Linked DNA regions of Homo sapiens: all the other regions are linked to region 4. Evidence: promoter capture Hi-C in 16 types of primary human blood cells and fetal thymus (Javierre and others, 2016). All regions are on one chromosome and are shown on one strand. The core of a region is centred on a gene start or on the middle of the fragment in contact, and the rest is flanking DNA. Distances in the headings are between cores, read along the strand shown.

The links. Contacts are between HindIII fragments. The CHiCAGO score rates a contact against its expected background, and 5 or more counts as called.
Region 1: a contact is called between a fragment that was not itself captured here and the fragment with the promoter of TSG101 in region 4, in 1 of 17 cell types (fetal thymus). The highest score is 5.0, in fetal thymus.
Region 2: the fragment with the promoter of RPS13 here is called in contact with the fragment with the promoter of TSG101 in region 4 in 6 of 17 cell types (fetal thymus, naive CD8 T cells, total B cells and 3 more); the score reaches 13.6 in fetal thymus.
Region 3: a contact is called between a fragment that was not itself captured here and the fragment with the promoter of TSG101 in region 4, in 1 of 17 cell types (fetal thymus). The highest score is 5.9, in fetal thymus.
Region 5: a contact is called between the fragment with the promoter of NCR3LG1 here and the fragment with the promoter of TSG101 in region 4, in 1 of 17 cell types (fetal thymus). The highest score is 7.4, in fetal thymus.

What each region holds. Positions count from the first base shown.
Region 1 is chr11:17,200,865-17,206,139 of GRCh38, reverse strand. The region is part of intron 1 of PIK3C2A (phosphatidylinositol-4-phosphate 3-kinase catalytic subunit type 2 alpha); the gene reads left to right. Among named protein-coding and RNA genes, the nearest start is that of PIK3C2A, 4.5 kb to the left of the region's middle. RefSeq lists an enhancer at 3,729-4,230. The HindIII fragment of the contact is 6,380 bases long and covers 1-4,573 here.
Region 2 is chr11:17,076,347-17,081,695 of GRCh38, reverse strand. It overlaps RPS13 (ribosomal protein S13), which reads left to right and starts at 4,029. Exons shown (of 6, transcript NM_001017.3): 1 at 4,029-4,077; 2 at 4,219-4,267; 3 at 4,450-4,528. The coding sequence starts at 4,055. RefSeq lists an enhancer at 3,796-3,995. The HindIII fragment of the contact is 8,959 bases long and covers 3,228-5,349 here.
Region 3 is chr11:17,269,780-17,275,167 of GRCh38, reverse strand. No RefSeq gene overlaps it. Among named protein-coding and RNA genes, the nearest start is that of NUCB2, 4.3 kb to the left of the region's middle. The HindIII fragment of the contact is 4,765 bases long and covers 1-4,389 here.
Region 4 is chr11:18,523,854-18,529,563 of GRCh38, reverse strand. TSG101 (tumor susceptibility 101) reads left to right here and starts at 2,622. Exons shown (of 10, transcript NM_006292.4): 1 at 2,622-2,789. The coding sequence starts at 2,748. RefSeq lists an enhancer at 2,353-2,462. The HindIII fragment of the contact is 722 bases long and covers 2,157-2,878 here.
Region 5 is chr11:17,349,408-17,354,576 of GRCh38, reverse strand. NCR3LG1 (natural killer cell cytotoxicity receptor 3 ligand 1) reads right to left here and starts at 2,777. Exons shown (of 5, transcript NM_001202439.3): 1 at 2,538-2,777. The coding sequence starts at 2,607. LOC105376576 (a long non-coding RNA gene) reads left to right here and starts at 2,711. Exons shown (of 3, transcript XR_931094.3): 1 at 2,711-2,798; 2 at 3,403-3,540; 3 at 3,666-3,764. It also overlaps a transcript of NUCB2 not described here. RefSeq lists enhancers at 1,362-1,411, 1,636-2,237, 2,238-2,839 and a silencer at 2,836-2,955. The HindIII fragment of the contact is 2,891 bases long and covers 710-3,600 here.

The DNA.
Region 1 (5,275 bases), core at 134-2,633, 1.3 Mb after region 4:
ACAGGTTTTACAATTTTTTTCTGTTTGAATCTCGCTCTGTCGCCTAGGCTGGAGTGCAGTGGCACGAGAGCTCACTGCAACCTCCACCTCCAGGGTTCAAGTGATTCTCCTGCCTCAGCCTCCTGAGTAGCTGGAATTACAGGCACGCGCCACCACACATGGCTCATTTTTGTGTTTTTTCAATAGAGACTGGTTTACACTATGTTGACCAGGCTAGTCTCGAACTCCTGACCTCAAGTGATCTGCCCGTCTTGGCCTCCCAAAGTGCTGGGATTAAAGACTTGAGCCACTGCACCTGGCAGTTTTTTCTGTTTTATAGAATACAAAAGCTGGCATGTTTGCATTGAGGAATTTTAGAAACTAACTTTTTGTAATGAATAACTGTATACTAAGTTTGTTTCTTCTGCAATTAATAGTTCTAAAATTTTCAATTAATTGAAGATTGCTTGCATTAATTCCCATGTCCAGGACTCTTTCTGTAGCACAAAGTTTTGCATTTAAGTAAGCACATTCAATAAGTGAACTTATACCTAAAGAGTGTTGAATTTCCTGAGAACTCAGAGTTCTTATAGAGCATCAGAGCAGCAGTAGTGCAAAGCATTTTTTGTAACTTGTTTTTCTTTGATAACATGAATTATTCTTTTTTTTTTTTTTTTTTTTTTTTTTGAGATGGAGTCTCACTCTGTTGACGAGGCTGGAGTGCAGTGGCACGATCTTGGCTCACTGCAACCTCCACCTGCCGGGTTCAAGTGACTCTCCTGCCTCAGCCTCCCGAGGAGCTGGGACTACAGGCGTGTGCCGCTATGCCCAGCTAATTTTTGTATTTTTAGTAGAGACGGGGTTTCACCATGTTGGTTGGCCAGGATGGTCTTGAGCTCTTGGCCTTGTGATCTGCCCACCTCGGCCTCCCAAAGTGCTGGGATTACAGGCTTGAGCTACCCTGCCCGGCTCTTTTTTTCTTTTTTGAGACAGTCTCACTCCGTCACCCAGGCTGGAGTGCAGTGGCGTGATCTCAGCTCACTGAAACTTTTGCCTTCTGGGTTCAAGCAATCCTCCTGCCTCAGCCTCCCAAGTAGCTGGGATTACAGGTGCACACCACCACACCCACCTAAGTTTTGTATTTTGGTAGAGACGGGGTTTCACCATGTTGGTCAAGCTGGTCTTGAACTCCTGACCTCAAGTGATCCGCCCGCCTCGCCCTCCCAAAGTACTGGGATTACAGGTGTGAGCCACTGCGCCTGGCCTATGCATTGTATTAATTTAGCATATTCCAAAAATAATTTAAGACAGGCAAATGATAAATGTGGATGTTTCTGGTGGTGCATCACATTGTAGGTGATTTCATTTTAGTAGTTGTACCTGCATAGGGCTAAAAATTAACCCTCTCAAAGCTCTGAGAGTGCCGGAGGGCCTGAAAGAGTGCCTGGTACTTCAAAGGTTCCCAGGGATAAGAAAAATGAATGAGACAGTGCTTGCTCTCAAGAATTTCTCATCCATTTGGAAGACAACGTACATTTTATAACAGTATAATTATAAGGGCAGGCTAAATAGGATATGGTCACCTGGGCTGGGAGATGGAAAAGGAATGAGGGGGTTTGAGGAGGAAGAGGATGCTCAAGTTGAGTCTTAAATGATTAATTCCTTCTATTCATAAGGGCAGGATGGATAAACGTGATCAGGTTCTAGGCCCTGCTCTGCTTCTATCAAGCGGTGAGATATTGAGCAAACTGCTTAATACTTCTGGTATCCATTTTCCTTATTCAGGATTCGACTACATATATAAAGCAGTGCTGTACATGAGAAATATGTGAGCCAAAAATGGGAGTCACATAGGTAGGAGATTTTACATTATTTTTTTCCCCTAAATCTTTTAAATCTGGTGTATGTTACACTTGGTACATCTCAATTTGGAACAGCCACATTTCAGGCACTTAATAGCTCCATGTAACTAGTAACTGCCATATTGGACAGTATAGATCTAGAGGCTGGGTGCATTAATGCATGCCCATAGTCCAGTGCTTTGGAGGATCGAGGCAGGAGGATCTCTCTTTTTTTTTTTTTTCTTTGAGACGGAGTCTCGCTCTGTCGCCAAGGCTGGAGTGCAGTGGCGTGATCTCCGCTCACTGCAAGCTCCGCCTCCCAGGTTCACACCAGTCTCCTGCCTCAGCCTCCCGAGTAGCTGGGACTACAGGCGCCCGCCACCACGCCCAGCTAATTTTTTATATTATTTTAGTAGAGACAGGGTTTCACGGTGTTAGCCAGGATGGTCTCAATCTCCTGACCTTGTGATCTGCCCGCCTCGGCCTCCCAAAGTGCTGGGATTACAGGCGTGAGCCACTGTACCCTGCCAGCAGGAGGATCTCTTGAGCCTAGGAGTTTGAGGCTGCAGTGAGCTATGATCACCACTGCACTCCAGCTTGGGTAACAGAGTGAGACACTGTCTCAAAAAACAACCACCACCACAAAAAAGATCTAGAGGCTATTCTGTCTTGGTTCTCTGCTTGAAAAAGGAAAAGGGACTCCAATGAGAAAATTATCACTGGTAATTTATAATTTGTAATCATTTTGATGGTACTCATATATGATGTTCTTTTGATGAGAATTATGGTCATACTTGCAAATATTGCTGTAAGTATCTTTCAGGTTGTTCATAGGATTATGGTTGGGATGAGAAGAAATGTCTTTGTTTTCTCTGCATCTGTAGTGGAGTCATATTTTTGTTATCTTTATTTTGTTCATTTATGTATACTTTGTATCCTTTTTTTCTACAGTATGTTATTTCTTTTTTTCTTTCTTCTTTTTTTTTTCTAATAGAGATGGTGTCTCACTATGTTGACCAGGCTGGTCTTGAACTCCTGGCCTCAAGCGATCCTCCCATCTTGGCCTCCCAAACTGCTGGGATTACAGGCATGAGCCACTGCACTCGGCCTGCAGTCTGTTTTTCTAATGTAATGGATTTAAAACACAATGAGAGTGCATATGGACATTTTAGAAAGTTAAAAGGAGAATTTATACAATTTTAAACTAATTCTTGGATTTCTTAAAATTTTAAACTTAGCTATTTGGGTACAAAAACAAATGGGATTTATAAATCCTCTTTTAATAGATTTGAAGGCAGTTATTGTTGGCTTAGCAACAAGTATTTATCTTTTAACCTTGAGACTGCATTAAGATAGTGTATAATTAACATGCTTACTGTTAAACATAAGGCTTTCTGTTAGTATTACAGTATAACAGTTACATTATTGATATGACTGATGTGCAATGTTGGTGCACTTAATTTGCTGTGCACTGAGCTTGGTTAAAAAACACTAGTGGCTAATTTTAGACAAGATAGCTATGACTGACAATAATACATCTTTACACTTGGATTGACTGATGGTTATAGCTTAGCTAACACTGTTTTCCCTCCAAGACCTTATTACCTGTGAGGTAAATACAGCAAGTATTCTGATTTTGCTGAGGCCCAAAGATGTTGTGACTTACTTAGCATAATAAATTAGAAGCATTGCTTGAATTCAGGTCTTAACAATGCTAGGCCCAGTGTTCTGTTCTTTTTTTTTTTTGAGGGAGGTTCTCTCTGTGTCGCTCAGGCTGGAGTGCAGTGGCTCCATCTCAGCCTACTGCAACCTCTGCCTCCCACACTTGGGTGATTCTCCCACCTTAGCCACCCAAGTAGCTGGGACTACAAGCACGTGCCATCACGCCTGGCTAATTTTTGTGTTTTTTGTAGAGGAGGGGTTTTGCCACATTGTCCAGGCTGGTCTTGAACCCCTGGGCCCACCTTGGCCTCCTAAAGCGCTGAGATTACAGGCATAAGCCACCACGTCCACCCCAGTATTCTTTTCTTTTCTTCCTTCTTTCTTTTTTTTTTTTTTTTCTGGAGATGAAGTCTCACTCTTGTCGCCCAGGCTGGAGTACAATGGCGCAATCTCAGCTCACTGCAACCTCCGCCTCCTGGGTTCAAGTGATTCTCTTGCCTCAGCCTCCCGAGTAGCTGGGATTACAGGTGCATGCCACCATGCCCGGATAATTTTTGTATTTTTGGTAGAGATGGGGTTTCACCATTTTGGCCAGGCTGGTCTTGAACTCCTGACCTAAGGCGATCTGCCCGCCTCTGCCTCCCAAAGTGCTGGGATTACAGGTGTGGGCCACCGCCCCGGGCCCCAGTATTCTTTTCATTGAATCTCTTCATATGGCATTTGAGTGTTTAGATACATAGTACAAACCAGATTTTTGGAGTGTATAAAGAAATAGTTACTTCCTGCCTTTGGGAAGTTTATATTCCAACTAGGAGAGACCAACTAACTACAATCCATGTAGCAAAAAGTACTTCAGTTATTTAAAAAAATTTGTTACGGGAAAGAAAAGATGTAAGGGATAATATAGTCAAATGGAAAATAGATAAGAGTTAATTAGACAAGATTTTTGAGTAAAGAGTTTAGATTGTAAATCCTTACTATAGGAAGAAGAAGATGATGAGGTGTTAAGGATAGTGTTATTTCAATGCACAGAGAACAACTTAAGGGAAAACTTAGCTAAGGGAACATAAAACGTAGGTTTAGGGAAAGCTTTTCTTTTTTTTTTTCTTTTTTCTTTTTTTTTTTTTTTTTTGAGACGGAGTCACGTTCTTTCACCAGGCTGTAGTGCAGTGGTGCGATCTTGGCTCACTGCAACCTCTGCCTCCCAGGCTCAAGTGATTCTCCTGCCTCAGCTTCTCAAGTAGCTGGGATTACAGGCACACGTCACCACGCCCGGCTAATTTTTGTATTTTTAGTAGAGATGGGGTTTCACCATGTTGGCCAGGATGGTCTCAATCTTTTGACCTCATGATCTGCCTGCCTCGGCCTCCTGAAGTGCTGGGATGACAGGCATGAGCCACCACACCAGGCCTAGGGAGGGGTTTTCAAGGCTTATTTTTTATTTTTATTTTTTAGATAGAATATCGCTCTGTAACCCAGGCTGGAGTGCAGTGGCACGATCTTGGCTCACTGCAACCTCCGCCTCACAGGTTCAAGCGATTTTCCTGTCTCAGCTTCCTGAGTAGCTGGGATTACAGGCGTCTGCCACCACATCTGGCTAATTTTTGGGTTTTTAGTAGAGACGGGATTTCACCATGTTGGCCAGGCTGGTCTTGAACTCCTGACCTGAAGTGATCCGCCCACATCTGCCTCCTAAAGTGCTGGGATTACAGGCATGAGCCACCGTGCCCGGCTTGAATCGCCTAGTTTCATCTGACTAGATCTCATAATGACATTTATCAGGCTAGAATTCT
Region 2 (5,349 bases), core at 2,780-5,279, 1.4 Mb after region 4:
GCTAATTTTTGTATTTTTAGTAGAGACGAGGTTTCACCATGTTGGCCAGGCTGGTCTTGAACTTCTGACCTCGTGATCCACCCGCCTCGGCCTCCCAAAATGCTGGGATTACAGGCATGAGCCACCGTGCCTGGCCTTATGATTCTATTTATATGAAATGTCCAGAATAGGCAAGTCCATGAGACAGCAGATTAGAGTGGGGAGAGGAGACTGGAGAGCCAACAGCTTAATAGTTACCGGGTTTCTTTTGGGGGTAATAACATATCAGGAATTAGTGGTAATGACTGCACAACATTGTGAGTGCAATAAAAGTTACTGAAGTAACTGTATACTTCAAAATGGTAAAAAAGTGAATTTCATGGTATGAATTTACCTCAGTAAAAAAATATTAAAAATTCAGTTTGTAAAGCTATTTGATCACTGAACTTCTGACCTTAATAAATGCATTAACAGTAACTATTTTCTAGATACTAAAATTATAACTTTCCCTTTGTCTAAAAAATTAGAAGTTTCCAATTTGCAAAAGCAGCTCTCACAAAAGCATGCCACATATAAAGGCAATGGAGCATGGCTTAATAGAAGGTAAACACCGTTTGATTAAAACTCAGCACTACATCGTATTTTATCATCATTACTGAATATACAAACATTACCAGATAAAATAACTATGGCAGGCCGGGTGCAGTGGCTCACACCTGTAATCCCAGCACTTTGGGAGGCTGAGGCGGGCGGATCACTTGAGATCAGGAGTTTGAGACCAGCCTGGCCAACATGGTGAAACCCCCATCTCTACTAAAATACAAAAATTGGCCGGGCGTGGTGGCGGGTGCCAGTAGTCCCAGCTACTCGGGAGGCTGAGGCAGGAGAATCTCTTGAACTCGGGAGGTGCAGGTTGCAGTGAGCCAAGATCAGGCCACTGCACTCCAGCCTGGGTGACAGAACGAGACTCTCTCAAAAAACAAAAACAAAAATCTTCATGTATAACTAACTGACAACCCAAATTACACACAGACATCCTGTAATCTGGGACTAGATTGCTAAATCTACTATTCCCATCATCTTCCTGAAATAAAGTCTACAATCTAGACATCTACAAAGGGGGAAAAATGACATTATTTAGGTTCATTCTTTCAAATAATTACTGAGTACCTAACTTCCCGCCAGGCACTCTTGTGGGTGTTGGAGATAAAGCAATAAACGTTGTACTCTCAGAGCTAATTTTTATTGGAGGTGGACAGGCAACCAAACAAGCAACTAGAAAGGATGTTAGAGATTTGGGTGCTTTGAAAGTAATCAATAGGATATTGTGTTGGGAAGAAGGACTACTTTAGATGATCCTATTTAGGGAAAGCCACCCTGAGATGACATGGAGGCCAGGATGTGAAAGTGAGACCTGAAAAGGTCTTGAGGAAGAGCAAGCACTTCAGGCAGTGCCAACAGCAAGAGGAAGGGCTCTAAGCAGGAAAGGAACACATTGCTACCTTGTAGAGTCAGAAAGGAGTAAGTGCGGTTAGAGCGTTTAGAATCGGGGGATAGTGGCAAGACGTGGGTCCAGGGATTGGATCTTAGGTGCATTGAGAAAGTATGGGAGGGATTTACACAGGGGAGCAATGAATTAATCTGCTTTATGTATTTAATGGATCACTCTGACTGCTAGGTGGAGAGTGGGTTGTGTTTAGAGTGGGGACGTGACCAGACGGTGTGGATACTACAGAGTTGCCCAGATAGGAGGTGATGGTGGCTGGGACTGAAGGTGGAAATGGGGCAAAGGGAACATATTCATGATACATTCTTGTGGTAGAGCTGGGATGACAGAGGGAAATCAGAGAAAAACGGAGATGCCTAGGTTTGTATTAAGTTTGAGCAAACAGGATCGTGTTTAACTGAAACAAAGGGGCATGGTTTGGGAATTGGAGTCATATTAAATTTGAGATACCTATTCCATATCTGAACTAAAAATGTAAAATTGGCTAATGATAAACTTTGCTAGAAAAAAACATTACCCAAATAGGGTACCCGATTTGACTAAAATTCCTAATGCTTTGGGAAAAGTTATTAATCAAATAGTGACAGATTATGGCTTTTTTGGGGGGGAGGGGTGTTGTTTTCTTGGAGAACTGACCCGTTTGTTGTTATAAAGGGTTCTCTCTTTATCCCTGATACTTTTTTTTTGAGACGGAGTCTCGCTCTGCCACCTAGGCTGGAGTGCAGTGGTGCGATCGTGGCTTACTGCAAGCTCCGCCTCCCGGGTTCACGCCATTCTCCTGCCTCAGCCTCCTGAGTAGCTGGGACTACAGGCGCCCGCCACCACGCCCGTCTAATTTTTTTGTATTTTTAGTAGAGACGGGGTTTCACCGTGTTAGCCAGGATGGTCTCGATCTCTTGATCTCGTGATCCGCCCGCCTCAGCCTCCCAAAGTGCTGGGATTACAGGCGTGAGCCACCGCGCCCGGCTATCCCTGATAACTTTATTTCAAATAGTGACAGGTTAAAAGTTAAGAGCGGATGTTTCAGTATCTAGTTTCCCAGCGTCTTGCCAGTTACTTTAAGCTTGTCGACAGGAGTTTGATTTCACTGACCTCCCTCCTTCCTAGAGCTATGCTTACTTTTTAAAATTTTAAGAAGCTGCTTCATTTGCCCATTCTTTCAACGCATTGTTGTGTACCGGCACTGAGTCAGTCTTTTTCTTTCTTTCCTTTTTTTTTTTTTTTTTTAAGACAGAGTCTTGCTCTGTTGCCCAGGCTGGCGCGCAGTGGTGCTATCTCGGCTCACCGCAATGTCCTTCCCGGCTCCAGAGATTCTCCACCTCAGCCTCCTTCGTAGCTGGAACCAAAGGCACGAGCGAGCACGCCCGGCTAATTCTTTGTATTTATAGAGAGGGGGTTTCGCCATGTTGCCCAGGCTAGGTCTGTCTTAAAAGAGCTTCTTCCGGCCAGGCGCGGTGGCTCACGCCTGTAATCCCAGCACTTTGGGAGGCCGAGGCGGGCGGATCACCTGAGGTCGGGAATTTAAGACCAGCCTGACCAACATGGAAAAACCCGTCTCTACTAAAAATACAAAATTAGCTGGAAGTGGTGGCGCATGCCTGTGATCCCAGCTATTCAGGAGGCTGAGGCAGGAGAATCGCTTGAAGCCGGGAGGCGGAGGGTGCGGCAAGCCGAGATCGCGCCATTGCACTCCAGCCTGCGAATCAAGAGCGAAACTCCGTCTCAAAAAAAAAAAAAAGCTTCTTCCTTGACGGTTCCCTTTTCCCATGAAATTCAAATGCTTCATTTTATCCCTCATCCTCTTGGCCTTTGCAGTCTTGCTCCCAAGGCTCTTCCCTGCCCGCCAACTCTCTCACTTGGGAACATAGCTCCGTAAGCCTCTGCCCAACCCTTCTCCCCGGCGAGCCCAGCGCCCCAGAGCCCTGCGCAGGGGAATTCGAGTGCGGAGGGCGGCAGGCATCCGTGGGGACCTGGTTCAACTCCTTAGACCGGTTCTTCACCGTCAGCGACTCTCCCCTGACAGATTAGGGTAGGATTTAGAAATGAGAAATGGAAGCGCTGGCTGGGCGGTAGCCGCTGCCATGGCTTCCCGTGTGGTCCTCATCACATGCTATTGTATCTGTTAATTTATTAGGCGCAGGGCCGACTCTGAGGGATCTAGTGCCAGGACAAAGCCAGGCACTGGTGAATGAGCAAACACCTGTGTATGGCTGCTTCTTCCAGCCCTACCTGCTCCATACCCACCCCCAGCGCAGCATTCGAATCTTTGTGATCTCGGCGTCCACAGGGAATTTCGACGCAAGCTGGCGTCAGCCTCAAATTCCCGCTCTGGCAACAAGGCTGACCAAAGACCGATGCATGCCGGGATGAGGCTGGATTGACGATCTCTTGCGACGCTGAAATGCATTTCGGGAGATGTAGTCACACAGACGGGCGGTGGCTGCGCAGCGTAGCTCCGCCTCCTGCGTGAGAGGAAGCGGGGACGTGTGAGGTCACTTCCTGCGTGTTGGGTGGCTTCCTGCGGCGTTTCCACTCTCGCTCTCCTTTCGTTGCCTGATCGCCGCCATCATGGGTCGCATGCATGCTCCCGGGTGAGCTCGGGGCATCAAGCCGGATTGCTGGGCGGGGGGTGGGAGGAAGACAGGGAGTGTGGGCAGCGGGCCGAGGGGATGATGTTCTGGGCTGCTCTGGCACTAGCCGCCACCTCACCTCGAGACTGCTTCTCTCCCCAGGAAGGGCCTGTCCCAGTCGGCTTTACCCTATCGACGCAGCGTCCCCACTGTAAGTAGCGCGCTGGGACCGGGGAGAATCCGGGGAGGGGGTTGGCATTTGTCTCGGGTGAAGCGACGCCAGGGTGAGGAACTTGCGTGTATGAGGAGCGCGGTTTTGCGGAAGGAGAGACCGCTGTTCTGCGGCGCCATTCCTGGGTTCTCATCCTAAGGCTGCTTTCTATTCCATAACAGTGGTTGAAGTTGACATCTGACGACGTGAAGGAGCAGATTTACAAACTGGCCAAGAAGGGCCTTACTCCTTCACAGATCGGTGAGTGTTTGTGTCTAACATAGCCTATTTCGCCTGTCCTCGTGTGACTTGTAGGATCTAGTAGGTGGTAAAGTTATTTTAAAAATAGCCAAAACTCTGGTCTCGCCACCGTGCTAGAGGCATCATTGTAAGCACTTCACATGTACTGATTTCGTTTAATTCTGACCACAATACTTTGAAATAAATCTTCATGGCTTTCACCCCAGTTTACAGTTGAGGAAGCAGAGGCACACTGCCGCTGGATACTAACCAGCCCCAAATCACACAGCTGTCAAGTGGAGGAGTTGGAATTGGCTAAGCAGAGTGCCTGACACAGTTCCTCACAGTTAGGTGTGGTTTGAATCTCAGCTGCGTGTGACTTCGTGCAAGTGGCTTCATTCAGCAAATGTTTACCTTCTATGTGCTGAACATGGTTCTGGGGCCTGAGAACATACTACTCTCCGACTCCCCCGCCCAAAAAAGCCAGCCGCAATGTGCCTGTAGTCCCAGATACTTGGGATGCAGAGGTGAGAGGATCACCAGAGCCTAGAAGTCCCAGGCTGCAGTGAGCTATGATGAAGCCACTGCACTCCTGGGTGACAGAGAGACCCCACCTCTTTTTTTTTTTTTTTTTGAGACAGTCTTGCTCTTGTCGCCCAGTCTGGAGTGCAGTGGCGCGATCTCAGCTCACTGCAACCTCCACCTCCTGGATTCAAGCGATTCTCCTGCCTCAGCCTCCCGAATAGGTGGGATTACAGGCGCCCGCCAGCAGGCCCAGCTAATTTGTGTGTTTTTGTTTGAGACCGATTCTCACTTTGTCACCCAGGCTGGAGTGCAGTGGT
Region 3 (5,388 bases), core at 758-3,257, 1.3 Mb after region 4:
GGCAATCCTCCCACCTCAGCCTCCCAAGTAGCTGGGACTACAAGCACACACCACCACGCCTGGCTAATTTTTTGGCATTTTTTTGTAGAGACGGATTTTTGCCATGTTATCCAGGCTGGTCTCGAAGTCCTGGACTCAAGCGCTCTGCCTTCCTCAGCTTCTCAAAGATTAGAAGCGTGAACCACCACACCTGGCCTCAATTATCTTTACTAACACTTCTCATCCACATACATAGATCAGTACCTCAAGGTTAGGCTCCTTTTTGAGGTTCAGGAGAAGAGGACCCTCCAGCCTGGGCGACAAGAGCGAAACTCCGCCTCAAAACGAACAAACAAACAAGGGTGAACTCCTAGGAGCAGGAGACTGATGCAGGACAGGAAAGCGCCAAAATTGAGGATTCTTGGCTTCACCCAGTAAAGAATTCAAGCGTGAGCTGGTGGTGTTAAACAGCAACTTTTATTGAAGCCGCAGTACCCGGCAGCAGCAGAGCTACTGCTCCTTGCAGAGCAGGGCTACCCTGTAGGCAGTGTGCCCAGAGCAGCAACTCAGAGGCAGTTCTGCATTCCTGTTTATACTGATTTTATTTTATTTTTATTTTTATTTATTTATTTTGAGACAGAGTCTCACTTTGTCACCCAGGCTGGAGTGCAGTGGTATAGTCTCAGCTCACTACAGTCTCCACCTCCTGGGTTCAAGTGGTTCTTCTGCTTCAGCCTCCTAAGTAAATGGGATTACAGGCACCCGCCACCACTCCGGCTAATTTTTGTATTTTTAGTAGAGACGGGGTTTCACCATGTTGGTCAGGCTGGTCTCGAACTCCTGACCTCAAGCAGTCCACCCACTTCGGCCTCCTAAAGTGCTGGGATTCTAGGCATGAGCCACTGTGTCTGGCCCTATACCCACTTTTAAGTATATGCAAATTAATGGGCAGTTTATGCAGAAATTTCTAGAATGAGGGTGGCATCCTCCAAGTTGTCAGGTCATTGCCACAGAAAGGGGCCATAACTTCAGGGTGTTGTCATGGCAATGGTAAACTGACATGGCACAGTGGTGGGCGTGTCTTATGGGGAGGTGCTTCTGTTCCAAACCTGTTTCAGCTAGTTCTCAATTTGGTCTGGTGACCAAGCCCTGCCTCCAGAGTTGAGTTCTGCCTCCCGTCTCAGTACCACCAGCTTGCCTAAGGAGGCATGAACTGGTCCAGGTTGGAAACAGAGCAGGTCAAAAACTCCTTTCCTGATCAGTAGTGGGATCACGCCTGTGAAGAGCCACTGTGTTTCAGCCTGGGCAGTATAGCAAGACCCTGTCTTGTCTAAAACAGTTCATTCGTGTGCACAATTGGAAAAAGCTGCTTTTAGAACCAGATAAATTGAATGGGAGACCTTCTTTATGTTTGTCCTGGTTTCAGTCAACTAAAACCCTCTTTTCCCCGCTTTTCTTTTAGAGATAGGGTCTCACTATGTTGCCCAGCTAGTCTTGAACTCCTGGCATCAAGCAATCCTCCCACCTCAGCCTCCCAAAATGCTGGGATTACAGGCATGAGTTACTGCACCTGGCCTACGCCTGTCTCTACAAAAAGAGCTTTTTATAAATTAGCTGGGAAAGAATCCACAGACCCTTTGAAAGATGCAGCAGGCTGCAGCGTACTCTGTGAGACAGGTGAAAAACTGTCAATTCCCAGAGTGTGAGAGGGGGAGAGTCTTCCTCCAAGCACACATTCCTACCAGGGAATCTGAACCTCTAGTCCACAGGAGAAGGCTTTAACCCTCCCCAGAGCCGGAATGGATTTAGGGAGTGGCGTGAAATAAATAAACGTAGAAGCAGTAGTGGGAAGTGCCTCGTAGGCATTCCCAGTCTCTATTGTGAATGGAGGGAAGCCATTCCTGACTGTATCTTACAGGGGCCCTCAGGGAAGCCAGCCAACAAACTGAGGGAGGGGTCCCAAGGTGAAAGAAGCTCCCAACTGAATTTTATGATATAATCTGGAGTGGGGATGAACTCCCTTGAGCAGAAACCAGTGGGCAAGCGAGAAGTGTGCAGGAGACACAAGCATACATGCTGGGTGTTCAGCTTACCAGCAGAAAGGGAAGGGCATGACCTGAAAGCTGTGGTTTCAGGTCACAGTGTGCACAGACTGCCTGGATCTAAACTCAGTGCTGCTAACAGGGCACTGATGGAGCAAGACCAGCCTTGCCAACTGCATGGGAGCTGGGTGAGGCTTGCTGCTGCCTGCTACTCCCCACTCCCTTTGTGAACTCATGTGCAGCAGAGGCAGTTATACTCCCTTCTGGAACAAATGGAAACACATCCCACAACACTGCCAAAAGCAATCTACAGATTCCATACAATTCCCATCAAAATACAATCATCATTCTTCACAGAACTGGAGAAAAAAATCCTAAAATTCATATGGAACAAGAAAAGAGCCGCATAGCCAAAGCAAGACTAAGCAAAAAGAACAAATCTGGAGGCATCACCTTACCCAACTTCAAACTATACTACAAGACTACAGTTGCTGCCGGGCATGGTGGCTCACGCCTGTAATCCCAGCACTTTGGGAGGCCAAGGCGGGTGGATCACCTGAGGTCAGGAGTTCGAGACCAGCCTGGCCAACATGGTGAAACCCCGTCTCTACTAAAAATACAAAAATTAGCCAGGTGTGGTGGCAGGCGCCTGTAATCCCAGCTACTCAGGAGGCTAAGGCAGGAGAATTGCTTGAACCCAGGAGGCGGAGGTTGCAGTGAGTCGAGATCATGCCATTGCACTCTAGCCTGGGGGACAAGAGCGAGACTTCGTTTCAAAAAAAAAAAAAAAGGCTATAGTTACCAAAACATCATGGCACTGACATAAAAACAGGAACACAGACCACTGGAATAGAATAAAGAAAAATGGCCAGCCACGATGGCTCACACCTGTAATCCCAGCACTTTGAAGGCTGAGGCTGGTCATCACTTGAGGCCAGGAGGTCAAGACCAGCCTGGCCAACATGGTGAAACCCTATCTTTACTAAAAGTACAAAAATTAGCCGGGTGTGGTGGTGGATGCCTGTACTCCCAGCTACTGGGGAGGTTGTGGTAGGAGAATTGCTTGAACCCGAGTGGCGGAGGTTGCAGTGAGCTGAGATCACGCCACTGCACTCCAGCCTGGGTGACCGAGTGAGATCCTGCCTCAAAAAAAAAAAAAAAAAAAAGTCAAAAAACAATAGATGTTGGCATGGATGTGGTGAAAAGGGAACACTTTTACACTGCTCTTGGGAATGTAAATTAGTACAACCTCTATGGAAAACAGTATGGAGATTCCTTAAATAACTGAAAGTAGAACTACCATTCAATTCAGCAATCCCTCTATTGGGTATCTACCCAAAGGGAAAGAAGTCATCATATGAAAAAGATACTTGCACATGCATGTTTATAGCAGCACAATTCTCAAGTGCAAAGACATGGAACGAACCTAAGTGCCCAGCAACCAACAAGTACACAAAGAAAATGTGTTATATATACACTATGGAACACTACTGATTCATAAAAAGGAACAAAATAATGTATTTTGCACCAACTTGGATGGAGCTGGAGGCCATTATTCCAAGTAAAGTAACTCAGGAATGGAAAACCAATTATCATATGTTCTCACTTATAAGTGGGAGCTAAGCTGTGAGGACACAAAGGTAGAATTATATAATAGACTTTGGGGACTCAGAAGGTAAGGTTGGGAGAAGGGTGAGGAATAAAAGACTACATATTGGGTACAGTGTATACTGCTGGGGAACCGGGTGCACTAAAATCTCAGAAATGACCACTGAAGAACTTATCCATGTAACCAAAACCTACCTGTACCCCAAAAACTATTGAAATAAAACACTTTCAAAGATAAAAAGTGGCCAGGCACAGTGACTCATGCCTGTAATCCCAGCACTTTGGGAGGCCAAGGCGGGCAGATCACCTGAGGTCAGGAGTTCAAGACCAGCCTGGCCAACATGGTGAAACCCCGTCTCTACTTCAAATACAAAAAAATTAGCTGGGTGTGGTAGTGCACGCCTGTAGTCTCAGCTACTTGGTAGGCTGAGGCAGGAGAATTGTTTGAACCCGGGAGGCTGAGGTTGCAGTGAGCCGAGATCATGCCACTGCACACTCCAGCCTGGGCAACAGAGTGAGACTCTGTCTCAGAAAAAAAAAAAAAAGAAAAAAAAGAAAGAAAGAAAAGAAAAAGAATAAATAAAACCCCAGCATTGAAAGTCTTGCTGCTAGGAACAACGGATGCTTTTGAAGCACCACCCTTTGTGCTTTGTTGGGGGAAACCAGTTATGTGGAAGCACTTGTGGATCCTCAAGAGTGTGCATGGGAAGGAATGAGTGTAACACGGGCAGGGCAGGGACCAGTGGACTTTTTGTAAGCTTTCAGCTCAATAAAATGAACCTATGTGGTGAGATAATAACAGTAAGTAAAACTAAAACTTGAAGGTTTAGCACTGACAGAGAATCTCCTGGTGGGAAAGATGTCTAAAGAACATGGGCCAGGCGCGGTGGCTCACACCTATAATCCCAGCACTTTGGGAGGCCTAGGCAGGTGGATCACTTGAGGTCAGGAGTCTGAAAGCAGCCTGACCAACATGGTGAAACCCCATTCTACTAAAAATACAAAAAAATTAGTGGGACATGGTGGTGCATGTCTGTAACCCCAGCTACTTAGGAGGCTAAGGCAGGAGAATCGCTTGAACCCAGGACACGGAGGTTGCAGTGAGCCAAGATCATGCCATTGCACTCCAGCCTGGACAACAGAGTGAGATTCTGTCTCAAAAAAAAACAAAAAGCAACAACAACAACAACAACAACAGAAACCATAGTCACTACCTTGTGTATTCCAACTGTTCTATAATACTAATTAAGAACATAATCACTACCTTGGACAAGGGAAAATACACAAGCTTTAGCGTCAGAATTGGACCCCAACCCTGGCTCTACTGCTTATTACATGTGCCCAGTTTTGAGTTAGTTCCCTAACTCTAGGCCTGGTGCATTTTCTAGAGAGTAGTTGTTCAAGTCTGGAAAGAGTGAATCTGGGAGGTATAGTGGTTAAGAGCGTGAACAATGAAACCCGTCCACCTGGATTAAAAACCCAGCTCCATCCATATTAGCTAATGTCCTCCAGCAAGTCACTTAACCCCGCTCTTCAAAGCACAGCTTTCCCACTTGTAAAATGCAGGCAACAATAGTTCAAGCTTCCTATAGTTGTGGTAAGGATTAAATGAGTTTATATTTGTAAAGCAGAGGGTGCCCGGTGCAAAGTGCTTTATTAATGTCTAATAATATATTGGTCTCCGTTTCTCCACCTGTAACCTGGGGATAATAATGCCGAACTAACTTTAAGGATTCCAATGATACATGTGAAGTGCTAG
Region 4 (5,710 bases), core at 1,373-3,872:
TTTTTTTCATATAATTCACACAGTACCCAGGATATTTAGTTATTTTGTGTAAAATGAAGAGACTAGATTTTATCATTTTCAAACTTTTAAAAATTATTTTTAGCAAGAAAACTTTTTAAATCTTTTTGTTTTTGAGCCAGGTTCTCACTATATTGCCCAGGCTGGACTCAAACTTTTGGGCTCAAGTAATCCTCCTGCCTCAGCCAATGGAGTAGCTGGGACTGCAGGTGCACCATCAGCTTATTTGTGTTTTCATCTGTGATAATCGGAGGATTTAAAATTCTCCACTAATATACGTGAGGATAGAAATCAAAATGCCTAATGAGTGGAAAAAAACTCATCTTTAGTGTTGAAATGGCAAGCAACTTTCAAAAGCATTTCAACTACTATTACCTTCACATTAAAAAATTAACTGATTTTGCATATTTCTAAAACCACAAAGACATTTTCCCCACACACATTCAATCCTCCATGGTTCCAATGAAATAGATAAGAAGTTAACACTTTATATTGAGGTATAGTGTTGACCCTAAAAGATTGCAAAAGACTGATAGTAAACATGCAGCAAGAAAGCTTTTTTAAACAATATATTGCTGGGCACAGTGACTCACACCTGTAATCCCAGCACTTTGGGAGGCTAAGGTGGGAGGATCACCTGAGCCCAGGAGTTCTGAGGCCAGCCTGGGCAACAAAGTAAGACCTCATCTTTACAAAGAAATTAAAAATTAGCTGGGCATGGTGGCACACGCATGTGGTCCCAATATACATGGGAGGCTGAGGCAGGAGGATCACTTGAGCCAGGGAGGTCGAGGCTGCAGTGGGCCATGTTCACATCACTGCACCATGACCTGGGCAACAAAAATATATAAATGGGCTGGGCGCAGTGGCTTACGCCTGTAATCCCAACATTCTGGCAGGCTGAGGCGGGTGGATCACCTGAGGTCAAGAGTTCCAGACCAGCCTGGCCAACATAGTGAAATCCTGTCTCTACTAAAAATACAAAAAATTAGCTGGGTGTGGTGGTGGGCACCTGTAATCCCAGCTACTCGGGAGGCTTAGGCAGGAGAATCGCTTGAACCCGGGAGGCAGAGGTTGCAGTGAGCCAAGATCACACTATCGCACTCCAGCCTGGGAAGCAAGAGCAAAACTCTGTCTCAAAAAAAAAAAAAAAAAAAAAAAAAAAAAATATATATATATATATATATATATATATATATATATGTAAAATTTATTTTAATATTTATAAATGTTGCATTTATAAAATATATAAATAATATATATTACCTGGCATTCCTCCAACTCACAAAGGTACAGTTGCTCTAATTAAAGGGACTCCTGGTTAAGCCGTGGCTTTAAGAACAGTTTGAAAACCTTCTTGCTTTTAAAAGACATAAAACAGCAAGTAAAATGGAAGGACAGACAGACCTCTAGTTTGGTTTGACTGGAGCTGTATGCTTAACTAAGGAGCTGAAAAACAGAGGCGGAGGTTGCAGTGAGCCGAGATGGTGCTACTGCACTCCAGCCTGGGCGATGGAGTGAGAGTGACTCAAAAAAAAAAAAAAAAGAAAAAGAAAAAGAAAAACAATACCTATTAATAGCCTTTATTTGTGCGTGTTAGCAACAGTTTATAATGATGCTTCCACATGCTTTCAGTTAGGCCCTCCTTGTGAATGTGACCTTCACTTAGACGCCAACTTTGAAGGGAATCAATACTACGGCCTTGTTCTCATTAGGGCTGTACTAAAATAATTGAAACTGTCACACATCATCAAACTCAAAATTTTACAATACCTTGAATGACACTGTGCTTACAAAACTGACGGTGATGTGTAATGATGACTAATGTAAGTCACCATGAAGAATTTTTATGGGAAGTAAAAATTCAATTAAGATGGAAGTACCTACCCTTGCATTGTGCAAGGCAATGAAGATCTGAAGGAAGCCTGCCTTCAAGGGCTTGGATTTTGACAGCGGACAGGTACACAAATACAGCACCAGGTAAAATACGGCCTGTATTATCATTTATGGGTGGGTACAGAGGAGAAATTCTGACTTACGGAATGATTTCCTGGAGAAGAAATTACTATCTGGCTTCTTGTGAAACAAAGGCTCTACACTTTACCCTTGCCAACGTATAGTATGAAGGTCTTTAAGCTTAAAAAAAATCATTAATTAGAGGACCACTGGGCATCATCTAAGGCAAGTGTATGACTTTAGAGTCGGGAGAAATTTGCGCCTGAGCTAGAAATGCACTAGCCTACCATTATCACAAGAGCAAGTCAGTGACAGAACAGTTCTCTGACCGCCAGTGCAGTGCCCTCCCACTTGATCAATCAGTCATTAAGGCTCACTGGCAAGCCCTTCGTACTTCTTCCCTCTCCGGCACTAGCTTCCTTAAGTCGACTCTGTGAAATACCTGCTAATCTTATCCTGAACCAGAGTTTCGACCCTCGGAACAGTCTTGCCCACATCTTTGGGACCCGATTCGTCCTGCTGATTCCGGCACTCGAGGGGCGGGTTGGTTGGAACCCACCCCACCAGGCCCCTCTCAATCCCACACGGTGTCCACCCTTGCCCGCAGGACGGCGGCCCGGAAGTGACGTAGTGGAAGCGGAAGTGGTGTAGTGGTGCCGACTTCCTGTTGTTTGAGGCCGGGTTGGGGGTGTGCGATTGTGTGGGACGGTCTGGGGCAGCCCAGCAGCGGCTGACCCTCTGCCTGCGGGGAAGGGAGTCGCCAGGCGGCCGTCATGGCGGTGTCGGAGAGCCAGCTCAAGAAAATGGTGTCCAAGGTGAGGCTGCGACGCGCTCGCCTCCCAGGGCGCGCCCACCGCTCCCTTCCGCGCCCTGTCGAGTCCGTCCCGGCCCAGCCAAGCAAGCTTCCCAGACGGGCCGGAAGCCCCGGTGCAGTCCTTAGCGACCTCCTCAGAACCCCGCCCCGAGGCGCCTGTCGCCTGGTGCGGGAATCCCCGTACGGGAGCTGGGAGGGTGGGGGACGGCGACAGTCAACAAAGGCGTGGAGCGGAGGCTACCTGACACCTGCCGCCCACCCGCCCTCCTCTCTTCCACTGAGTTTGGAGCTGTCTGTGGGGCAGTGTAGTTTTTCGTTTGTTTTTATAAACACAAACAAGGGATCATACTTAGTTGTAGATCTGAGGCAATCCTCTACTCCTGTCCCAATCTAGGGATCCTCCAGTCTTAGCCTTTCTTTTGCCGACCCGCAGAGAGTGTGGCCTTTTCAGTTTTGTATTCTCCAGAAAAGAAGCGAAAATACCAGTCCCTTACTGCCCCAGGTGAAATACATACCATTACCATTTCAGGGATTTTCTAAGAGTAACTACTTTTAAGTGTATGCTTCTTATAACGCGTATTTATTTGCTTTGAGCTTAATTTATGATCTTCACGGCTCAAGACTAGTGTTTTTTTTTTCAATTTTTAAAAAAGCAGTTAAGCATTTTGTATTTTAAAGCCATGATTTATTTATATAATTACTTCAAACGTGGCACCTCACACCAGAGTGGAATGGCTTTTGTTATGTTTTGTTGTAATTTTCCAAAACTATGTAAAATGATTGAGAGTTGAGTCTTGACCAGTTCAACGTGTTAGCTTGGGATAGTTTTGTCAAAGCAAGAATGGTAGCAATCAGCGGTTTAAGCGGTTTCAATTTTTAATAAAACACACTATTATGTGTAAAACTTTTTTAAAAACAGACTTTTTCCAGTTAAATCGCCCCCATAGTTCTTGATTGAAGACCAAATAATCTCTAAGGAGAAAATGACAGCTTTCAAAATAAAGCATATATTGGTTGTGTAATCGTATATTTTAGGCTTCTTGGTTTTGTTTTGATAAACTTGTTATCCTTAGTTATAGAAGACATATGGGAAGCCATAGAAGATTGTGACCCAGGTAAAGATCCATGTTGTAACTTTTATATATCACTTTTTGAAAAAAACGGTATATTGTTTTACATAGTATGTAACTGAAGAGTATCTGTTCCATGACTCTTTTTTTTTTTTTTTTTTTTTTAGAGTCTTGCTCTGTCACCCAGGCTGGAGTGCAGTGGCACGATCTTGGCTCACTGCAATCTCCGCCTCCCAGGTTCAAGCGATTCTCCTGCCTTAGCCTCCCAAGTAGCTGGGGATTACAGGTGCCCACCACTTCACACAGCTGATTGTTGTATTTTTAGTAGAGACGGGATTTCACCATGTTGGCCAGGCTGGTCTTAAACTCCAGACCTCAGTGATCCACCGCTTTGGCTTCCCAAAATGATGGGAATACAGGCGTGAGCCACCACACCTGGCCTCCATGACATTTTTGATCTTTAAATTGATAGCATAGTCATTAAGATTTAGTCCTTGGGCTGGGCGCAGTGGCTTACGCCTGTAATCCTAGCACTTTGGGAGGCCAAGGCGGGTGGATCACCTGAGGTCACGAGTTCAAGACCAGCCTGATCAACATGGTGAAACCCCGTCTCCTAAAATACAAAAATTAGCCGGGCATGATGGCGGGTGCCTGTAATCCCAGCCTACTCGGGAGGCTGAGATGGGAGAATCGCTTGAACCTGGGAGACGGTGGTTGCAGTGAGTCGAGATCAGGCCACTGCACTCCAGCCTGGGTGGCTGAGCAAGACTCCATCTCAAAAAAAAAAAAAAAAAGATTTATTCCTTAATGTATGTATATTCATATAAAGAGCAAGAATATTCAAATATTAGCTTATTTTTTATACCCTAATTAAGTTTCCTAAGCTTCCCTAGAGAAACCTGCCATCAAAGACAAAGGCAAGGCATGTTCAGAAGATATTTTATACCTCTACCTGCCTTCCCCTCCACCCAACCTGTGATTACTTTAGAAACAAAAACAGAGGTAGGGAAGAGGTGGGAGAGGGCATCCTACCTGCCTTTTGGTCCTTGACTCAATATCTGGAAAATTGAGACTCCTGTATGTGATTATGACGATTCTGAGCATCAGCATTAGTACTGTCCAACCTATGAATTTTAGACAGGTAAGAATAGGAAGTAAAGTAATAGAAGCAGTTGTGGGGCTCCTTCCTCCTAAAGAAGGGCTTCAAATGTTTTCCTTTCAGCTGGTGTGGTCTGATGTAAGAATTGTTAGCCAGGACCCTGAACACATAGCTAGGGTGAAGGTCATTATTGTTTTCTCTTTATCTGATTGTAGGCTCTCCACACACATCATGGTACTCTGGCCACCTGCCTTATGTTTTATGTGTTTATTATAAAAGGTCTTTTTTTCCCTTGAGCATTATCTTAGCTCCCAACTTCAACATAACTTTCAACACCTTTCTCTGTTATTTTTGCAATTAACAGATATATTTATACCAGATTAGTCCTTCTTCTTTTACAGAAACAACTTCCCACTTTAGATGTTTCATACATACAGCCACTTATATTTTTACATAGTTTATCTACAGCATTTCTAGAGGCACAGTCACTGCTAAATGAGTAGAAGAAAACTGTGGGCCTGGTGTGGTGGCTCATGCCTGTAATCCCAATACTTTGGGAGGTAGAGATGGGAGAATCCACTTGAGGCCAGGAGTTCAGGATCAGCCTGGGCAACATAGCTAGACTCTGTCTCTACAGAAAATTTAAAAATCAGCCAGACTTCGTGGCTTGCACCTGTAGTCCTAGCTACTTGAGAAGCAGAAGCAGGAGGATCACTTAAGCCCAGGAGTTCAAGGTTACAGTGAGCTATGACA
Region 5 (5,169 bases), core at 1,528-4,027, 1.2 Mb after region 4:
ACCAAAAAAAAAAAAAAAAAAAAAAAAAAAAGAAGAAGAATTGGGGGGTCGGAGGGAGAAGGGAAAATATCAAAAACACTAACATGTGCTTAAAAGGAATACAAACCTGAGTGCCAGACTACATAAATTTAGAAGATTTAAATCAACAAATCAAAATTTAGAAGGCAAATTTGGGAAACCTCGTCTATTTTCAGAGCGCCCAAGCGCTCACCCAGGACCTCCATGTATTTTCATTTAAAGGTACAGAGTGTAGTACCTTAACAGCTTAACAGCATTCGCCTTTTTCAAGGACTAGATCCTTGGAATTTTCTGCAGTCTTGTTTCCAAGGAAAAGCATTTATGCATTTATCTTTTCAAATCAACTAGTGGTATAACCTACATAGAGAACCTCCAGTTCTAGAGCTCTCCAACTAGGGAGGACTGTTAACTACAGCTTTACAAATTGCTCTTTTCAACTTCATTTCTGAAATAAAACCTAACGTTCTTTAAAACATTTTCTATATCAACAACCTTTAAAGACATTCTCATACAAAGACGGGCTAGAATCTCTTGCATTAAAATCTGACGAATTCCTTTGTATGACTGGATTTTTTTTTTCTTGTACCACTTTAAATTTGCTTCCACGCAGAATAGCAGCCAGGCAAACAGATGCTCCATCCTAAGGTGTAGGAATTTCTTGTAGGCGGAAATGATTTGTTAGGCGAAAGCTTCCGAAACGGTTTTCCATTTCACAGTCTCTTCCGGTGCCAAAGTCCAGCACCAACGCCTGGTTCTGGGGTCCGACCCTCATGCAGCCGCCGCCGCGCTCCTCGTGGCTGGACGAGCCGGAACTAGCTTCCTCCAGGAGCTGCTGCTGCTGCTGCCGTCACTGGGCGCCGCCGCACAGCCAAACGGCGTTCCTCCCTCTCCGCTTCCCTGAGAACTCGCGGCCCTTCTCCACCACCACCAGCATCCGCGGGGACCGAGACCGGACGAAAGTGGCGGGGACCCAAGGCCCCTGAGGAGGGGGCGCCGGGCCCGGGAGGGGGCGCGGGACGGGCATGGGACCGGGTGGGCGCGGCGGCAGCCCACTGGCGCCACTTCGAGCTCGAGGAGACCCAGACTGATAGAGCGCGGAGGCGTTTCCAGACCGCAGCGACAGGCGTTTCCAGACCGCAGTGACAGGCGTTTCAAGTCCGCAGCGCGGAGACAAGCGCAATTTTGGCTTTCCACTTCACCGCCCACACTTCACTCGGAACTGTCTTATTTTCACATTGCTTATTGCAAATGTATAGAAATACTATTCACTCGTTTTTATTTCCACTTCCCTCTCCCATCGGGCAGCCATTCTAAGGTGTTTAACATGTAATTTTTGTTCTCTTTAAGGCTGTATCTTCTGTTTCTCAAACTGTGGAAATGGTATTGCATTGTATGTCCACTGTTTACTTGGCTCTACGCCTTCAACATCCGTTCACGCTGCTCGGCAAGCAGCAAGGGCGTGGTGTGAAGCTGCCGCCAAGGTCTCCACGGTGAGGTCCACACGCGGCTCTCCTCCACCTGCAGTGACTCGGGGCGCCCAGAGCGCGCCTCCGGGATTCCTACATTCCACCTCCACCACCCGGCACCCAGGAGCGTATTTTGGCCAGCCTAGTAAGGGTCAAGCAGCATCTTGTTGTTTAATTGCCATTCTTCTAGTTAGAAATGAGTTTAAATATCTCTACATACGCGTTTCAGCCTTTTAGTCTCCTGTTTAAGTTAACGCAGAACACGCCCATACGAGTTCCCAAAAAAGCAAGAGAACGTTTGAAGGTCACCACAAGATCAAAACACTCCCCTCCCTCTCTCAGTAAAGACCTAACTTAGCAAAGCCAGGAGGACCCACTGATATGCGGATGAATGATTTTTCCAATTTACCGATTCCCTGATTTTCTTCTCTCCTCCGGCCCCTCGGATGATGCGAGAGAGGCGCCAAATACCGAGGCACCAAACGCGCGACATCCAAGGAAGCACCGTTTCCGCTCTCACAGGTGTCGACCCTGCACAGGGCAGGCCTTCAATGTAAACCTGTTGCATCGGGGACTCCGCTTCTCACAAAGGAGGGACGCTTGAAAATAGAGCCCCCAGGCCGGGCGCGGGGGCTCACGCCTGTAATCCCCGCACTTTGGGAGGCCGAGGCGGCTGGATCACTAGGTCAAGGAGACCATCTTGGCTAACACTGTGAAACCCCGTCTCTACTAAAAGTACAAAAAATTAGCCGGGCATGGTGGCGGGCGCCTGTGGTCCCAGCTACTCGGGAGTCTGAGGCAGGAGAATGGCGTGAACCTGGGAGGCGGAGCTTGCAGTGAGCCGAGATCGCGCCACTTCACTCCAGCCTGGGAGACAGAGCGAGACTCCGTCTCAAAAAAAAAAAAAAAAAAAAAGGAGAAGAAATAGAAAAGAAAATAGAGCTCTCAGCCCCCAGGAAGTTGAGGTCCCCTGGCGGGATGCTAGGGAGCCGACCCGCGAGGACCCTCTGGCGCCAGGAGCCCCCGCCCCAGCCCACCCCAGCCGCCCCCTACCTTCGGTCGTCAGCGCCCACAGCAGAATCAGGAGCGCCGCGCACGTGGAGGCGGCAGCCCTCCACGTCATCGCCGCGGCTGCTGTTGTGTAATTTTTTTCGCCGAGTGGGAGCAGGCGGCCCGGTAGAAACCAAGGGCAGGGGGAGACCTCTGTTGCGTAAAGAGTTGACGGAGACACAGCCGGGATTTCCAGCCGGCGCTTTTGCACATCCCACTTCTTCAGATCCCTTCGGCAACTGCGAAGTCGCCTGGATTTCCCAGGTTCGCACTGCAGGAAGCCAGGCGCGTGACCAGCCCCACCCGCGCCGCACTTTAGCCCGGGGGCGGGCACCGGCCGGGGAATCCTCCCTCGCCTCCGCCCGCGGCACGAGGTTGCGCGGTTACAGCCCCGGTGCCTCTCGCGAGCGGCTCTGCGGTCCAGGACTCGGGGCATCCTCTGGGTTCGCTTAGTAAATTGAGACCGGGATCCAAGTGGCCCGGGGCGCTGCTCTAAGGAAGATGCTGACCGCAGTCGGTGATTGCGAGAGCAGGTGCACGCGTCCAGAGCGACATCTTACCGTTGGCGCGATAAACTTACATTACTTTAAAAACCAAAAACAACAAAAATTTAGCATTAAGTCGAAAGGCAAATTAAATCCCCAGGACAATTCAGTTAAACGCCTGAAGGTGGCCCTTAATTTCCCATTTCTACTAATCAAGAAGTGGCTTGCGACCTCCTGAAGCAAACCCAAATATTCTCATTCGGTGATTAAGTTTTACCACCTCTACACCAGTTTTTAAATCAATTTAACCGCAAAGTTCAGAACCCAAGTGGCACAGTAAATGTGTGTGCATTTATAACGCAGAACCTGCATTCTTTCCCCAGCAACCTGCATTCCATTTGTCTCATTGACCCTACTGCATTTTTCCTTCGCATCATTAAAAAGGATGTAATGTACAGAAAAGCACAGACAGACCTAAACTCCAATGCCAACCATGCCATCTGCTGATTATAAGACAGTGGGTAAGTGACCTCATATCCCCAGCCTGTTCACATGTCTCTAAAACTGAGAGAGTAAAAGCTTCCTTTCCAGGGTTAGAGACACTGTCACTGACTAAGCAAATAGTCACATTCTCACTTATCTGCAGAACAGAGTGCATACAGAAAGAGCTCAGAAGTGAAAGATGCGCAGAGTGCCCACAGTGGCAGCAACTAGCTGAGGGGCCTTCAGATCGCAGCCTTCCGGACCACCGTTATAACAGGTAGAGATATGCAAGGTTAAGTCCAGCTATTGAATTTTTAAAACCTAAATTACACCTCTTCTCAACCTCTGCCTCCTCCAAGGAGCCTTACCTGAGGAGACATCCTTGTCTGGTATTAGTGACATCATTAAATAACATTCCCAATGGAGGTATATGACGACTTCTTATACATGCCCAGAATAGTGATTCACAAAGTTGTGACACATACACATCACCCTGTAGAAATTATCAAATTACTCTTTTGGTAATTTTTACTGTTTTGGTAATTTTTTTGTACCCTTTTTACTCTAAAGGGTAAAACCGGCAGGTTTCTCTATTTATATTTCATTAGAATGAAAAGTCATTACCTGTGTTTTCGTTTTTACCAATATCATGTCTATTTGAACATCTTTTTTTTTTTTTTTTTTTTTTTTTTTTTTTTGGTGAGACAGAGTCTCGTTCTGTTGCCCAGGCTGGAGTGCAGTGGCGTGATCTCAGCTCACTGCAACCTCTGCCTCCCAGGTTCAAGAGATTATTGTGCCTCAGCTTCATCCTCCCAAGTAGCTGGGATTGCAGGTGCCTGCCACCACACCCAGCTAATTTTTGTATTTTTAGTAGAGACAGAGTTTCACCATGTTGGCCAGGCTGGTCTTGAACTCCTGACCTCAAGTGATCCGCCCACCTCGGCCTCCCAAAGTGCTGGGATCACAGGCGTGAGCCACCACACCCGGCCTGAACATGTCTTTTAATACTTTTGCCAACTTTCCATTCAACCCTAAAGCACACAGCAGATACCTCACGATGCTTCTCAAACAAAATAAGCATATATTCTCAGGAATTATTTATGGAAAACTCTGACTTTCTGTGTTCTTTATTGGTGCACAGCATTGAGACACGGTATTCAAATGCTGGTTGACACTGAGGTCATTTTTATGACACATTGCATCCAACTTGCTGTTGGAATATCACATACAATTTTGGAACCATATTGTAACACATATTGAAAATATCCAACAAGTAATCAGAATGGTAAATAAGGGACATTCACTCAAAGACATGTATCCAGGGACAGTATGGCAGAGACTGCTATTTGTCAACCAATATCTGTTTTCCCCTTTTTCCTTGAAAAAGGCCTCCAATATTTTCCTGGGCACAGGGATCAATAAAAGACTGCATTTCCTAATCATTCTGGAACTAAATGTGGCCATATGACCAAGTTCTGGCCAAAGTAATATAAATGGAAATGTTCTGTGTGACTTCTGGGAAATGTCCTTAAAGAGAAGGAAATGATCTTCTTTTCCCCTTCCTTCTTTCTGACAGCAGGATAGCAGATGTAATGCCTAGAGCTTGAGGAGACATCTTGCACCACAGTGTGGAAACCATGCACTAGGACAAAGGGACAGCAAAAGAG